Regions from separate parts of the Homo sapiens genome. Here regions 1, 3, 4 and 5 are each linked to region 2. Evidence: promoter capture Hi-C in 16 types of primary human blood cells and fetal thymus (Javierre and others, 2016). All regions are on one chromosome and are shown on one strand. Each heading gives the region's core, a stretch centred on a gene start or on the middle of the fragment in contact. The rest is flanking DNA. Distances are from core to core; before and after follow the strand shown. Region 1 holds the start of ODAPH (odontogenesis associated phosphoprotein). Region 2 holds the start of PARM1 (prostate androgen-regulated mucin-like protein 1). Region 3 overlaps CDKL2 (cyclin dependent kinase like 2). Region 4 holds the start of LOC107986230 (a long non-coding RNA gene). Region 5 overlaps RCHY1 (ring finger and CHY zinc finger domain containing 1).

What was found. The method cuts DNA at HindIII sites, captures the fragments that hold promoters and counts their contacts. A CHiCAGO score of 5 or more calls a contact.
Region 1: the fragment with the promoter of ODAPH here is called in contact with the fragment with the promoter of PARM1 in region 2 in 2 of 17 cell types (monocytes and M1 macrophages); the score reaches 5.2 in monocytes.
Region 3: a contact is called between a fragment that was not itself captured here and the fragment with the promoter of PARM1 in region 2, in 2 of 17 cell types (endothelial precursors and megakaryocytes). The highest score is 6.9, in endothelial precursors.
Region 4: a contact is called between a fragment that was not itself captured here and the fragment with the promoter of PARM1 in region 2, in 1 of 17 cell types (M0 macrophages). The highest score is 5.2, in M0 macrophages.
Region 5: a contact is called between a fragment that was not itself captured here and the fragment with the promoter of PARM1 in region 2, in 1 of 17 cell types (naive B cells). The highest score is 6.1, in naive B cells.

The regions. Positions count from the first base shown.
Region 1 is chr4:75,554,743-75,557,442 of GRCh38, reverse strand. ODAPH (odontogenesis associated phosphoprotein) reads right to left here and starts at 1,377. Exons shown (of 2, transcript NM_178497.5): 1 at 1,294-1,377. The coding sequence starts at 1,360. RefSeq lists a silencer at 1,350-1,644. The HindIII fragment of the contact is 3,725 bases long and covers 1-1,541 here.
Region 2 is chr4:74,931,669-74,934,368 of GRCh38, reverse strand. PARM1 (prostate androgen-regulated mucin-like protein 1) reads right to left here and starts at 1,253. Exons shown (of 4, transcript NM_015393.4): 1 at 999-1,253. The coding sequence starts at 1,041. RefSeq lists an enhancer at 320-369 and silencers at 480-529, 1,110-1,419. The HindIII fragment of the contact is 7,366 bases long and covers 1-2,184 here.
Region 3 is chr4:75,577,743-75,580,442 of GRCh38, reverse strand. It overlaps CDKL2 (cyclin dependent kinase like 2), which reads left to right. Exons shown (of 14, transcript NM_001330724.2): 14 at 1,265-2,700. Among named protein-coding and RNA genes, the nearest start is that of ODAPH, 23 kb to the right of the region's middle. The HindIII fragment of the contact is 1,699 bases long and covers 550-2,248 here.
Region 4 is chr4:75,454,879-75,457,578 of GRCh38, reverse strand. It overlaps LOC107986230 (a long non-coding RNA gene), which reads left to right and starts at 1,713. Exons shown (of 3, transcript XR_001741514.2): 1 at 1,713-1,888; 2 at 2,549-2,700. The HindIII fragment of the contact is 3,146 bases long and covers 1-2,700 here.
Region 5 is chr4:75,508,950-75,511,649 of GRCh38, reverse strand. It overlaps RCHY1 (ring finger and CHY zinc finger domain containing 1), which reads left to right. Exons shown (of 9, transcript NM_015436.4): 2 at 2,354-2,473. Among named protein-coding and RNA genes, the nearest start is that of RCHY1, 4.1 kb to the left of the region's middle. The HindIII fragment of the contact is 2,019 bases long and covers 355-2,373 here.

The DNA.
Region 1 (2,700 bases), core at 128-2,627, 620 kb before region 2:
GTTTTGAACTCCCGACCTCAGGTGATCTGCCCACCTCGGCCTCCCAAAATGCTGGGATTACAGGTGTGAGCCACTGTACCCAGCCTCAGTGGGTGTTTTTAAGATGTGAATAAAATAAATCTCTAATCTCATTATAACTTGTTTAGCTATGTGTTTACAAAGCCTCCTGAAGAGCGGTTCACTTTTTGCAGAGAAAGTGGCAGGTGGCTAGTTTTGTTTTATGATGCTTCTTTTAGATGTCACTTTTAGTAGGTGAGGCTTGGGGGCCTTGCCTTGGGATATGGGGGCAGGTTTTGTTCATAATCTATGCCCTGTCCCCTGATTGCCAGAGTGTGTGCAGAGGTTGGATCAGGGGGTTTCTGAGTGTTCCACAACCAGCTCTTATGTCTCTCCCCTCCTCCTGTCTATTGTGAGCTCTGAGGGATGGGAACGGGGAATCTGTCTGGGGATGAGCAGGGTTTGGCTGAGCCCCTGCAAAGCCCCCTACCCAAGACATGTGAAAGGGGTGAAGTGCTCTGTTTGACTCCTAGGTCCATCTTCCGTAAACAGCATCTAGTTTTGGAATTAAAATAAACTGAAGAAAAGGTTAGATCTAGGCTCCCCAAGATTTCCTCCCCTTGTATTTCCCTCTTTTCATCCCTTCCCCAGCCTTTTCTTTCCTTTTCCTAGGGGTTTGCAAACCAATTGTAAGGCTCAGGACACATTTTGTAGTGGGAACAAAGAAAGAGAATAGGAACAGTTGAGAAATGGAATCTAATAAAATCCTAAAGAAAGAAACCTGTGCCCACCTCTGTGGCACCAAAATGCAGCTCAATAGATGTGATTAATTAAAGCAATGAACAAAGACTAAATACCCACCATGTGCAAATTAATATGCTGCTGGAGATAGAAAGTGGACAGTGCTGTAATTCAAAGTGGAATTGTTAGCTTTGTAACCATAATAACTAGTATTTGTACAGTGTTTTTAGCTTGAAGAGTTTTTCACAGATGATAGCTCATTTGGTCCTTGCAAACCCCATAACGATGGATATTGTTAATGTTGTCACTTCACATATGAGGAATCTGATACTCAGAGATTTTAAGTGTGTCTAAAGTCACAGAGCTATTGCTGAGACGAGGACCAAGGTCTTCAGGTGACAAAATCCAACTTCCTTCTCTTTAACCACACAGGCTGATGGAAGCTGAGGTAAATATTTCCAATTTATGGGAACGTATAATCATGGAGCCAGTTTTGTCTTTTCCTACAACTTATTAATTAGTGGACCCACAGTAGAATAAAAGCAAAACCCTTACCTTCTGCCACAGTTACCACCAACCAGCATACCAGTAACCAGTAGGAGAAGCAGTGTCTGCGAGCCATGGCTTCTACTGAGCAGTCACTGCGTTGAACCTGATGTTGCTTTAAAGGGGAGCTGGTGAGTCACCAGCAGCCTGATTCAGGTAATTTGCATTTGCACAGTGGACCACAGAGATCAGGGCTTGCGGTGTGAGGGTAAGAAATCAGCAAGGAAATACCAGACAGTATTTGTCAACCAGAAGCTTCTTGGAATGACAGCCAGATATCAATCATCTCCCCCCAGAGGGGGATTTTGGACAACCGCACCTTCACCATCCTTCTAATCTCTCAAATCTTCTCCCATGTTAGTGCCTTTTAGTTGTGTATATCAGTCTTCCTCTGCAAGAGAAATAAGCTGTCCAGAAATATGCAACAGTGCTTCTCTCTGTGCAGCTTACCTACTTAAAAAGCGAAACAAGAGGGAGAGGGCATTACCCGGAGGCTTCCTGACCCCGGTGGTTTGCAGTGGAGAGTTGGGGATCATTCTTAGGCCCCCAACCAGGGTTTATGCTGCTTCTCTGCTCTGCTTTTGTCCAGGAGGTGAGGGCAGCAGAATCAGAAAGTGATCTTCCCTAGTGGTCATGATGGTCACTGTCTAAACAAACATAAACATTGGGAGAGTAACTTAGTGAGTCGTCCTTTCACGGCTCCTCCTGATTCACCATATTGCATATAAAATGGACATGACATGTCTATGTCCAGTTGGTTTCCTGAGAGAAAGACTTCATCAGCTGCTGGATATATGAGAGGGGATTGTCACAGGTGATTAAGAACATGGACCTTGGAGTCAGGTAAAATTCCAGTCTTTGTTCCTTTTCTTACTAGCTGAGTGACTGTGGTGAGTCCCTGAGACTTGCTGAAGCCTCAGGGGCCTCACCTGTAAAATGGGACTTGTGGTACTACCCTCAGAGGAATTTGTGAATTAAGGAGATGCTTTTAAAAAAAATTTTTTTTAAATTTCAATCTTTTGGGGTACGAGTGGTTTTGGGTTACATGGATGGACTCTATGGTGGCGAACTCTGAGATTTTAGTGCACTCGTCACCCGAGCAGTGTACACTGCACCCAATATGTAGTCTTTTATCCCTCACCTCCTTCCCAACCTCCCCCACCCCTAGCCTCTAAAGTCCATTATATCATTCTGTATGTCTTTGTGTCCTCATAGCTCAGCTCCCACGTATAAGTGAGAACATACGATATTTGGTTTTCCATTCCTGAGTTACTTAACTTGGAATAATGGCCTCCAGCTCCATCCAAGTTGCTGCAAAAGACATTATTTCATTTTTTTATGGCTGAGTAGTATTCCATGGTGTATTTCTACCACATTTTCTTTATCCACTCGTTGGTCGATGGCCACTTAGTTGGT
Region 2 (2,700 bases), core at 4-2,503:
AGAATCGGTTTGCGCTATGTGACTTTGGGTCACATTTAAACTGAAAATGCCAGTGGCCGCGCAGTCGGGCTACTTTTCCCAGCAGCACCATATCCACAGCCAGTTGTCCCTTTTCGGGAGACGTTTTCTGGAAAAAATAGGTACCTGAACTCTAGATTCAAAGCGTCTTTCTGAATCTCTCCCCGGTCCCCGCCAAGCCGAGCTCAGTCATCTGGCTCCCCTCTTCCCCATCCCCGCTGCCAGAGGTCGTCGCCGTCTGTGGTCCCGAAACCCGAGAGTGGCTCCTACGAAGCCTTTCAGAGGTGGTGCAGGGGGAGGGGAGAGGATGCTAGTTTAGCCAAGTTAATAGTTTCTTCTATGGGATACGTTTTTGGGGAGTTCTGGGGCAGAAGGTAGCCTTGCTACCCCCAGTGACGATTGCGAGCCTGACCAAGGCCGGGCCGCTGCTGTTAGTGCCACATCATCCTAAGCATAACTAGGAAGGGACGCCGGAGATCAGAGACCGCCAAGACTCGAGAAAGCAAACCAGCCCCGCCAGGCGCGCAGCCGCTGCTGAAGCCTTCCCAGATGCGAACCTCCCACCCCCACTTCCCCGGCTTTTTCATCCCTTCCAGGGCCCAACGGCAACAAGAAGTCTGGTCCCGTACTTTGGCAGAGTGCGCTCCGAAACCCTGGTGAAGAAAGAGAAGCCTTGAGGCGCAGTCCGTGTTGCCCACTCTGGGTTCGAACACGCAGCTAAGACAGCCACCTGTTCTACAAAGCTGGAGTTTGTGCGGGCGCGGGCTGCGGCAGGAAGGACCCCATCGTCCCCTCCCTCAGTACGGTTCGGGACCGCCAAAGGTGCACGTCACCCCAAATCTAAGTGCGCACACACCTGCGCACTCACCCGGAGGCGCGCGGCGACTCACTGCCGGATCTCCTAGCTTCAGCCCCGACCACGCGCTAGCTACTGGGGCCCACCCCGCGACCTGCCCTTCCGGGAGGATGGCGCCAATTACCTGCAGTTAAGATGCAAAGAGCGAAGAGAGTCTTGTAGACCATGGTAGCCTGGTATTTGGTGCCCAGCCCGGGGCGGGCGGCAAGGAGTTTGCGGACTGACAGAGCGCACTGGGCGCTGGTAGCGACTCCTCTGCCGGGTGGGCTGCGGTGGGAGCCGGGAGGCGCGAACAGCTCCAGTGGAGGGCGCGAGGCAAACGAGGCGAACGCAGCGCAGCTCCGTCAGCTGCGTGCCCTCCGGTGCTCCGCGCTCTTCTGCTCCATCCCAGCCGCCCGAGCCCGGGGCCGCCTCCGCCTCCGCCGCCGCCGCCGCGCCTGCCGCTGCCAAACCCCTCCCACCCGGGCCCCGCGGCGATGACTGGGCCACCCCCTGGCCTTCCTTCTCTCAGCCCTCAGGTCCCGAGAGCCCCGGCCCAGAGCGGCCTCTGCTGGACAGTCAAGACACGAGACCCTGGGTTCAGCAAATGTTTGCAGCGCCTTGCACTGTGCTGGGAACTAGGGATGCAAAGAAATGTGAGCACATCTCTGCCCTTAGGAATCTAGCTCAGCTTTTCCTACATGAGCTTACAGCCTTTAAAAAGGTGACCTTATGCCATTTTAGGAGTTCCCTCGGAGAACCGGCACATGTTCCAAGAATGAGGACCTTCTTCATTTGTCAAAACACTTCTGCGTGTACATCATTAAACCCTCATCCACATTAAACCCGGCTGAGCTTCCTGGGGCCCGAACCAGGATGTCTGCCGCTGCATTCAGCTTCTTACTAGAAGAAAATACTGTCGGGGGGATAACTAAGCCAGACACCCTACTAGGCGTTGTTTCATGAATCCTTCTAAGAATTATTATTATTCCATTTTACAGGTGAGAAAATGAAGGCACAGAGAAGACAATGTTCTCAAGGTCGCATAACTGGTAAGAATAGTTTGTGCACTAGGCCCATAATAAAGGCTGACGTTTCCTGAGTGATTGCTATGTGCTAGGCACTGGACAACGTGCTGTTCAGGAATCAACCAAGTCATTTAGTTCTCACAACAATCCTTGGAGATTATATCCTCGTTTTCAGGGGAGAAAGTAGAAGCACAGAGAAGTTTAACTTGCCCGAGTTCACACAACTCGCAAGTAATGATAAGATGCCTGCCCAGGCACCCCGCTCAGCCTCTGTACTCTACTCCCTCTCAAGAGCCCAAAGCTTCTCCAAAGCCTACAGATTAGAACTGACCTTTCATTCAGTTCCCTCCCTGCTCTTGCTACACTTTAGGCTTGCTTAATTCTCACACTTCGATCAAAGCAGATGCCAGGTTCTCTCCCAATTCTGTTATTAATGAACCTATTGGTCCCCTAGTCACTAGAGCTGGGGCACTGCAGGAGTTAACAAGCCTTTGTAAAGAAATGATTTGCGTGGAAGGCAGCTTTCTTTTTTCTGTAATATCTTCTTCATATGCCATGGGCTCTGTTCTCACTTCTTTCTCACATACCAGAAGCTGACTCTAGGAGTCCTGAGCACCTTATCTATGGTCAATTCCTCTGCCTGACTCTATCACACTACCACTTGTAGATTTTGCTCACACTTCCACAACCAGATTAAATTTGGATCATATTTTTTTCTCTTTGTTTTGGTAAATCTAGTAATTTCTGTTGGAATGAGAAACAAAAAATACTCAGACCAAGTGCCCATCCCCTCTCCATCCTCCCTGGCCAGATAAACTG
Region 3 (2,700 bases), core at 150-2,649, 650 kb before region 2:
CTGCCCGTCTTGGCCTCCCTAAGTGCTGGAATTAGAGGTGTGAGCCACCATGTCTGGCCAATCAGACCATTTTGAATGATAATTTATTTGCTCAAGCAAGTCATTCAATGTTTAATATCTCATTATGTAAAATATTATGATGATAAATTCCCACATTCTCACAACTGTATTTATTTATTTTTTTGAGACGGTGTCTTGCTCTGTCTCCCAGGCTGGAGTGCAGTGGCACAATCTCAGCTTACTGCAACCTCCAAGTGATCCTCATGCCTCAGCCTCCTGAGTAGCTGGGATCACAGGTGTGTGCCACCACGCCCAGCTAATTTTTGTATATTTAGTAGAGATGGGGTTTCACTATGTTGGCTAGGCTGGTCTTGAACTCCTGACCTCAGGTGATCTGCCCACCTTGGCCTCACAAAGTGCTGGGATTACAGTCATGAGTCACCATGCCCAGCCCCTAACTGTATTATTGGAATTAATCTGTTAACCTTTACAAAGCATTTTGAGCATCTGTGACATCAAAGGTGAATGTACTGTGAAGTGAACAAAGCTTAAGTTTTGATCTTTCATTTGCACAGGTCCTTTCAAGGCCGTGGGAGAGTCTTTGCAATGCATTCATTTGAGTTAATTCATGTTGAGCAATGAACAACTAATTCATACAAACCGTGTAAACTACAGGGTCTGCAAAACTTGGATGCATTTTGTCAAAATTAGTCATTATTTGCATAAAAGGAGATGTGTGTTACACATGATAGTTTTTCTTTTTTTTGAGACGGAGTTTCGCTCTTGTTGCCCAGGCTGGAGTGCAATGGCGTGATCTCTGCTCACTGCAACCTCCACCTCCCGGGTTCAAGTGATTCTCCTGCCTCAGCCTCCTGAGTAGCTGGGATTACAAGCATGGGCCACCATGCCGGGCTAATTTTTTTGTATTTTTAGTAGAGATGGGGTTTCTCCATGTTGGTCAGGCTGGTCTTGAACTCCCAACCTCAGGTGATCTGCCCGCCTCGGCCTCCCAAAGTGTTGGGATTACAGGCGTGAGCCACTGCACCCAGCCATACGCAAGATAGTTTTGATTGGTAATTATTCTAAAGATTGTCTTAAAAATTTGCTTTTGATACATCTAATTGAAATCTAAGGTTTTCTTAAACTACATAGTACCCACCAATGTTATCAATATATACGATGTGAGAAAGCAAGTGAGATAGAAATTAATTTTTAGAAAGATTTTTTGTAAAATAGTTGGTGGTATATCCTCCTGTGCTTTTAGATGATGCTCTTGCACTTGAGATGACATCTTCTTGCAGCAAGAGTGCTGATATCCCAAGAGGAGAGATTCATGGTTTTGATCATTTCCTTCTGAACTGCCTGCATTTTCTGAGGAAGGCCTTCTAGAAGAAGGAAAGACAAAGACTTCCAAATGTTTCAAAGGAAGATTGAACAAATGGCCCTCCCCAACTGTTATCCCATTACCTTTCACGTCCACCGATGCTATTTCAAGACATATCCAGTGGAATAACAGTGATATGGTTCTTGTTACATGAATGTGTATTTACTGTTAGGAGATTGTATATTTTAAGTTACCATGATTAAAAGTGTGTAAAAAAGGGGGACAGAGAGAAATACTATAAAAGGCCATGTTACTCATGCATTGAACTTTGTGTGTTTTCTGTATAAATGTGTACATTTATTTAGGAGTGGGTTTCTTGGGGGTAGGTGATAAAAATTAGGATCAGTTGAAGAAAATTGAAGAAACTAGGATCAGTAAGAGAAACTGTTTGCTTTACCTGAATTTAACTATGAAAACACACTTAACAATCTTACACGTTTCTAGATATTAAGTGAATATGTAACTCCTGTCCATGGGTAGATGTGTATCTTTGACTTCTGTAATTATTTTTGATATTCTATCAGTGTATTATGAGACTCTGGCCTCCCTGCAGATCTTCTAAGAACCACACTAATGCAAGCGTGACAGAGAAACCTCTTTCGAATGACTTACTACAACTCTGGCATTGGTTAGTTCCATGTATTGTAAGATTCTGGTGCTAATGCTCCATACAGAATTGATCAGGACTGATTACTCTTCTGTGGACCAATTGCTATTGAACTACCCAGCTGAAGAGGGTTTGGGGAGAGAACGTTCATTATTATGGACTCCACTTTTGTCCCCTGGTAGTTTAAGGGTGATACTAGAATCCAGAGAAGTTCCTGTCTCCTTGTGGCCTCAAACACTCAGGCCGTCTCAAAAGCTTTTCACCAAGGTGCAAAATCATTTACCTGCATTCCACACATCTTTTCCAATGCATGGATCCAAAACTTTTTAGGTGGGAGGAATAAACTAAGTTGGCTACAGGTTCTTGATTTCTGGGTTTCTACACATGCTCTGCATTTATCATTTTAGAGAATGGTTGTTTAGGGAACCAGAATTTGTGAGTTTTTTTTTTTTTTTTGCCTTAACTAATTAATAGTGTGTTGCTTTTTTTCCAAAGCCATTGACTAGAACTTAGCTGAAGAATTTAACTAGAACTTTTCTTTATTACTCTGAGGAGCTTAATACTGAAATTCTGACCTTGGATATTTAAGCCTCAAAAGAGTAGGACATTCAAGAGGAGGCAAATAAGGGGTTTCAATGTACAAGTCTATAGGTGGTGGTTAAATTAAAATTGGTCTTGATTTAAAAGCTCTACTTTTAATCTGTGACCA
Region 4 (2,700 bases), core at 171-2,670, 520 kb before region 2:
ATGAAATTGCTAACTCAGCATCAAGCAAAACAAGAATTACATGGAACTGAACTGATGAAAGACTAAAAAATGATTTTTTAAAAATGACTTTTTGTTTGAAACATTGCTGATTCTTTTTATATACTGTTTTCCAGAGTCAAGAAAACTTTATGGCTGGGTGTGGTGGCTAACGCCTGTAATCCATGCACTTTGGGAGGCCGAGGTGGGTGGATTGCTTAAGCTCAGTAGTTGGAGACCAGCCTGGGCAACATGGCAAAAACCTGTCACTACAGAAAATACAAAAATCAGCTGGGCGGGGTGGCATGCGCCTATAATCCCAGCTACTCAGAAGGCTAAGGCAGGAGAATTGCTTGAGCCCAGGAGGTGGAGGTTGCAGTAAGCCAAGATTACACCATTGCTCTCCAGACTGGGCAACAGGAGTAAAACCTCGTCTCAACACAAAACAAAACAAACAAACAAAAAACAAACAATGACAACAAAAGAAAATTTTACCTACAGTAAAAAAAGAGAAGTTGCTTACAGCCATTGGGTAAATTATACTTTTATGAGCAAAATGGAAACATTTACCTTTCTCTGTACCGAATTTCTCCAAAATTTCTAAACTATTCAAGAATATTATTATTTTTACAACAATATATTTATTTGCATTACTTCAGTAAGAATGTACAAAAGCCAAAATTGACAAATGGGATCTAATTAAACTAAAGAGCTTCTGCATAGCAAAAGAAACTACGATCAGAGTGAACAGGCAATCTACAAAATGGGAGAAAATTTTCATAACCTACTCATCTGACAAAGGGCTAATATCCAGAATCTACAATGAACTCAAACAAATTTACAAGAAAAAAACAAACAACCCCATCAAAAAGTGGGCAAAGGATATGAACAGACACTTCTCAAAAGAAGACATTTATGCAGCCAAAAGACACATGAAAAAATGCTCATCATCACTGGCCATCAGAGAAATGCAAATCAAAACCACAGTGAGATACCATCTCACACCAGTTAGAATGGCAATCATTAAAAAGTCAGGAAACAACAGGTGCTGGAGAGGATGTGGAGAAATAGGAACACTTTGACACTGTTGGTGGGACTGTAAACTAGTTCAACCATTGTGGAAGTCAGTGAGGCGATTCCTCAGGGATCTAGAACTAGAAATACCATTTGACCCAGCCATCCCATTACTGGGTATATACCCAAAGGACTATAAATCATGCTGCTAAAAAGACACATGCACACGTATGTTTATTGCGGCACTATTCACAATAGCAAAAACTTGGAACCAATCCAAATGTCCATCAATGATAGACTGGATTAAGAAAATGTGGCACATATACACCATGGAATACTATGCAGCCATAAAAATGATGAGTTCATGTTCTTTGTAGGGACATGGATGAAATTAGAAATCATCATTCTCAGTAAACTATCGCAAGGATAAAAAACCAAACACCGCATGTTCTCACTCATAGATGGGAATTGAACAAGGAGAACACATGGACACAGGAAGGGGAACATCACACTCTGGGGACTGTTGTGGGGTAGGGGGAGAGGGGAGGGATAGCATTAGGAGATACACCTAATCCTAAATGACGAGTTAATGGGGGCAGCACACCAGCATGGCACATGTATACATATGTAACTAACCTGCACATTGTGCACATGTACCCTAAAACTTAAAGTATAATAATAATTAAAAAAAGAATGTTTTCTTTTATAATAGGACACACTGGAAACATTGGTAATTTTCAGATATGACCAAACAGTTTTGAGGAATTGAGGTTGACTTTACAGAGCCAATACGAACCCCCTTGGAAAACTGGCCCGGTACCTTGTCTATATGCTTCACTTACAAGATTCCTGACCTTACAAGATTCCTGACCTTGTGGTAAGTAAAGAGTGTTAACTTTCTGACAGGCCCAGGAACCTCAAGATATTTTGAGACCTTGAGAAGAAAGGAATTCATCCAATTTATACAGGCATTACAGGATGGCAAATCCTTGGCTTGGCTTCTAAACATCTAGAGGCTTTTAAAAGTTTAATCTCAAAATCCTTATGAAAAAGTTCCAGCAAAGGCAAATTTAAAGGAGCCTATATGGCCAATTGCTATTCTTGCACTTTATGCAAATTATCAGGTCAAGTATAATAAGTCTAAAATTTATTTTGCAAATAAATTGGTCTTACTATTTCTTTTTGGTAGAAAAGGGGGACTGAAGAGAGGAAAATTATGTTTCAGAACAAAACCATATCTAATAAGCACACCTGCTTATTAGATTTTAACCCTGACCATTGTTTTTAAGTTTTTATTATTTATCTACAATTTGGGTTAAATCTTGGATTATTTCCTGGCTACAATAAATCTCTAAAGAAGAACCCGGTTTTAATTTTCTTCATGATGTTTTTAGTTGGCTCCCTAATGGAATAAGGTTTTCTTTCTTTCTATTCTGACATAGAATTTCTCTCTTTGATTGTAATCCTTGTGTGCATTTTATTTCTGCTATTCACATTACTAATGTTATGTATCTCTCATTGTTTTTCTTCTTCCAAGGAAACCAGAACCATGGTATTCCAAAGACTAGAGATGATTCAACAAAGCATGTGAATCTCCTTCATTTGGAGTCCTGCTGAGCCTGCTCTGTTTTCCATTGCCAATGCACCACTATTAAAGCTATATAACATTAAGCACCCTCCCTCTTGGTG
Region 5 (2,700 bases), core at 115-2,614, 580 kb before region 2:
TAACCAAATCTCAACCCTTGAATATATCTTTTAATATGCTGTTCAATGACATGGGAAGTTTTGATCAAACACTTCTGCAAACTGAAATTAGAGGGTTGTCTTGAGGAAAAGCTCTTGTGCAAATTGGATTGTAAAGTGAACTAGTTGCTTTTTTTCATGGAACAGCATTTTTTACTTGAAAAAATTGTAGTCATTCACATTTGGGTAGTTGGCAGACATTTTCTCAAAAAGGAGAAAAGTGAGACTCACTACAAATGAAAATGACAGTATTTGTTGCCAGTGATAAAATTCAAGCTTTCACACAAAAATTAGAATTTTGGAAAACTTTTACTAGCTTTTGTGAGGTTGGAAGCTTTTTAAAAGACTTTTTTTGGTGAGATTTTCTTCAATACCTAAAGACTTTTAATGAATATGATTTTTTGATATTGCATGTTAAATGTGTGAACATTTAGAAGATGTAAATAACTCACTGAACTGGTATTCTCCAGATGACCAATGCATGAGTAAAACATCCATTTGAAGTGCAAGATAGAGCAATAGATTTTAATGTAACCAAGGAAGAAAAGAGGCATCATATCAATCATATTCCTTGATACGATTTCAGATTTCATGTTGCAACTACCCTTTAAGAGTTGTTGTTCTAGTGTAATATCAGAGAATGATATCCATAATTCTCCAAAAAGGCTATTAAAATACTCCTTTCTTTTCCAGTGTACATATTTGTGTGAGGCCAGAGTTTCTTTTTGTACTTCAGCCACAACTGTTTGAATGCATAAGCAGATAGAAGAATTCAGCTGTTTGGGGGGAAAAATATAGTTATTTTTCATTAAAACATGTTATTTATGTTAACAAGTAATGAGTTTGTTACTTTTAAAAAGAAGTAATATTTTAAAAACCTATTCTTTTTAATTTATGATGTGGTATATGTCAATAGATAAAATCCACATAAACCAAAGCTCTTTGGGATTCTCAGTAATTTTAAAAAGTGTGAAGGGATCCTGAGACCAAACCATTTGAGAACTACTGTTCTGCGGTATAACTATGAGAATAGTGGGTTGGAGGACAAGGTTATTGGAAATGACAAAGTTAAGGAACTGAGAGTTGCAGAAAAAGGAAGCCAGTTAAGTGTTAAAATCTTTAAGGAATGAACTACGTTATGGTAAGTCAAGGCATAGGAAGCCTTCAGAAATGAGTGGATCTGCAAGGTCACAGTGTATTGGAAAGTCACTGGCCTGGAAATCTCTTGATATACTTGTAATGGTAAAGTTGCTGTAATGAAAAAACCCAACAGTGATGTAGATTAAAGAGTAAAGGTTTTATTTCTTTCCATTTAACAATTCCAAGGCGAGTGATGCAGGTTGGTGATGAGGCTTTGCTCCACATGGTCACTCCAGGGATGAGATTTTTCTGTTGTATCATTTTGTCATGTTTTAGGGCATGTGGCCATCTGTCTGATATAGCTGAACAATTGTGCCCAGGAAGGAGAGGATAGATTTTGGTGGACAACTGGCAGTCTTTGCCGTGTTTGAAAACAAGGGCTGTCTCTTACATTTGTTGCATTTTGTGCAATATTAGATATGAGGTTGATGATTAATAAAAGCTAGTAAAATAAGAATATAATCTTTATTATTTTTAATGTAAATGAATTTATCTGGAAATGTCTAAGAAGAGGTTGCCTGTTTGCTGTTTAGGCTCAGAATGAAATTGGGGTGTTATATTAGTCTGTTTTCACACTGCTGATAAAGACATACCCAAGACTGGGAAGAAAAAGAGGTTTAATTGGACTTACAGTTCCACATGGCTAGGGAGGCCTGAGAATCATGGCGGGAGACAAAAGGCACTTCTTACATGGTGGTGGCAATAGAAAATGAGGAAGAAGCAAAAGTGGAAACTCCTGATAAACCCATCAGATCTCATGAGATTTTATTCATTATCACGAGAATGGCACGGGAGAGTCTGGCCCCCATGATTCAGTTACCTCCTTCTAAGTCCCTCCCACAACACGTGGGAATTCTGGGAGATACATTTCAAGTTGAGATTTGGGTGGGAACACAGCCAAAGCATATCAGGTGTTGTGGGATTAGTGTTTCAATCTAGGGATTTCCTTCATAATTCTTTTGTTTTAAAGTTGTGTTCAACTTCATACAGACGTAGTGATGTTGAAGGGAAGAATTAACATAAAATATGCCAAGAAACTAGTGAAATGTTATGTTTAGGATCAGTTTAGCAACTGATCTATTGGTTGTAATCTTTCAGTTCCATCCAGGAGGAGGAGGAAGAAATTTTCTTTTTGTATTGCACACTTAGTTTCTTTTGCTTCTTACTATATCTCTTTTTTCTCCGTGGGTGTTAGGCACCTTGCTGTGACAAGCTTTATACTTGCCGCTTGTGTCATGATAACAATGAAGATCATCAACTAGATCGCTTTAAAGTGAAGGAAGTGCAGTGCATAAACTGTGAAAAAATTCAACATGTAAGATTTTATGACATTTCTATTTTCTTTTTAAAAGCTGTATTAAGGTGGTTTGAAAAAATTTAATCAAAAGTATCATAAATAAGATTTCTTTAACTTCTAGAATAAGCAATATCTTTGGTTTAGGTGTTTCAAAACTTATAAAAATAAACTGCATATAGTTGAACATAAGTTCTAGATATTCAAATGGTAACTCAAAATGTTTAGTTTATTGCAGTTTTTAATTA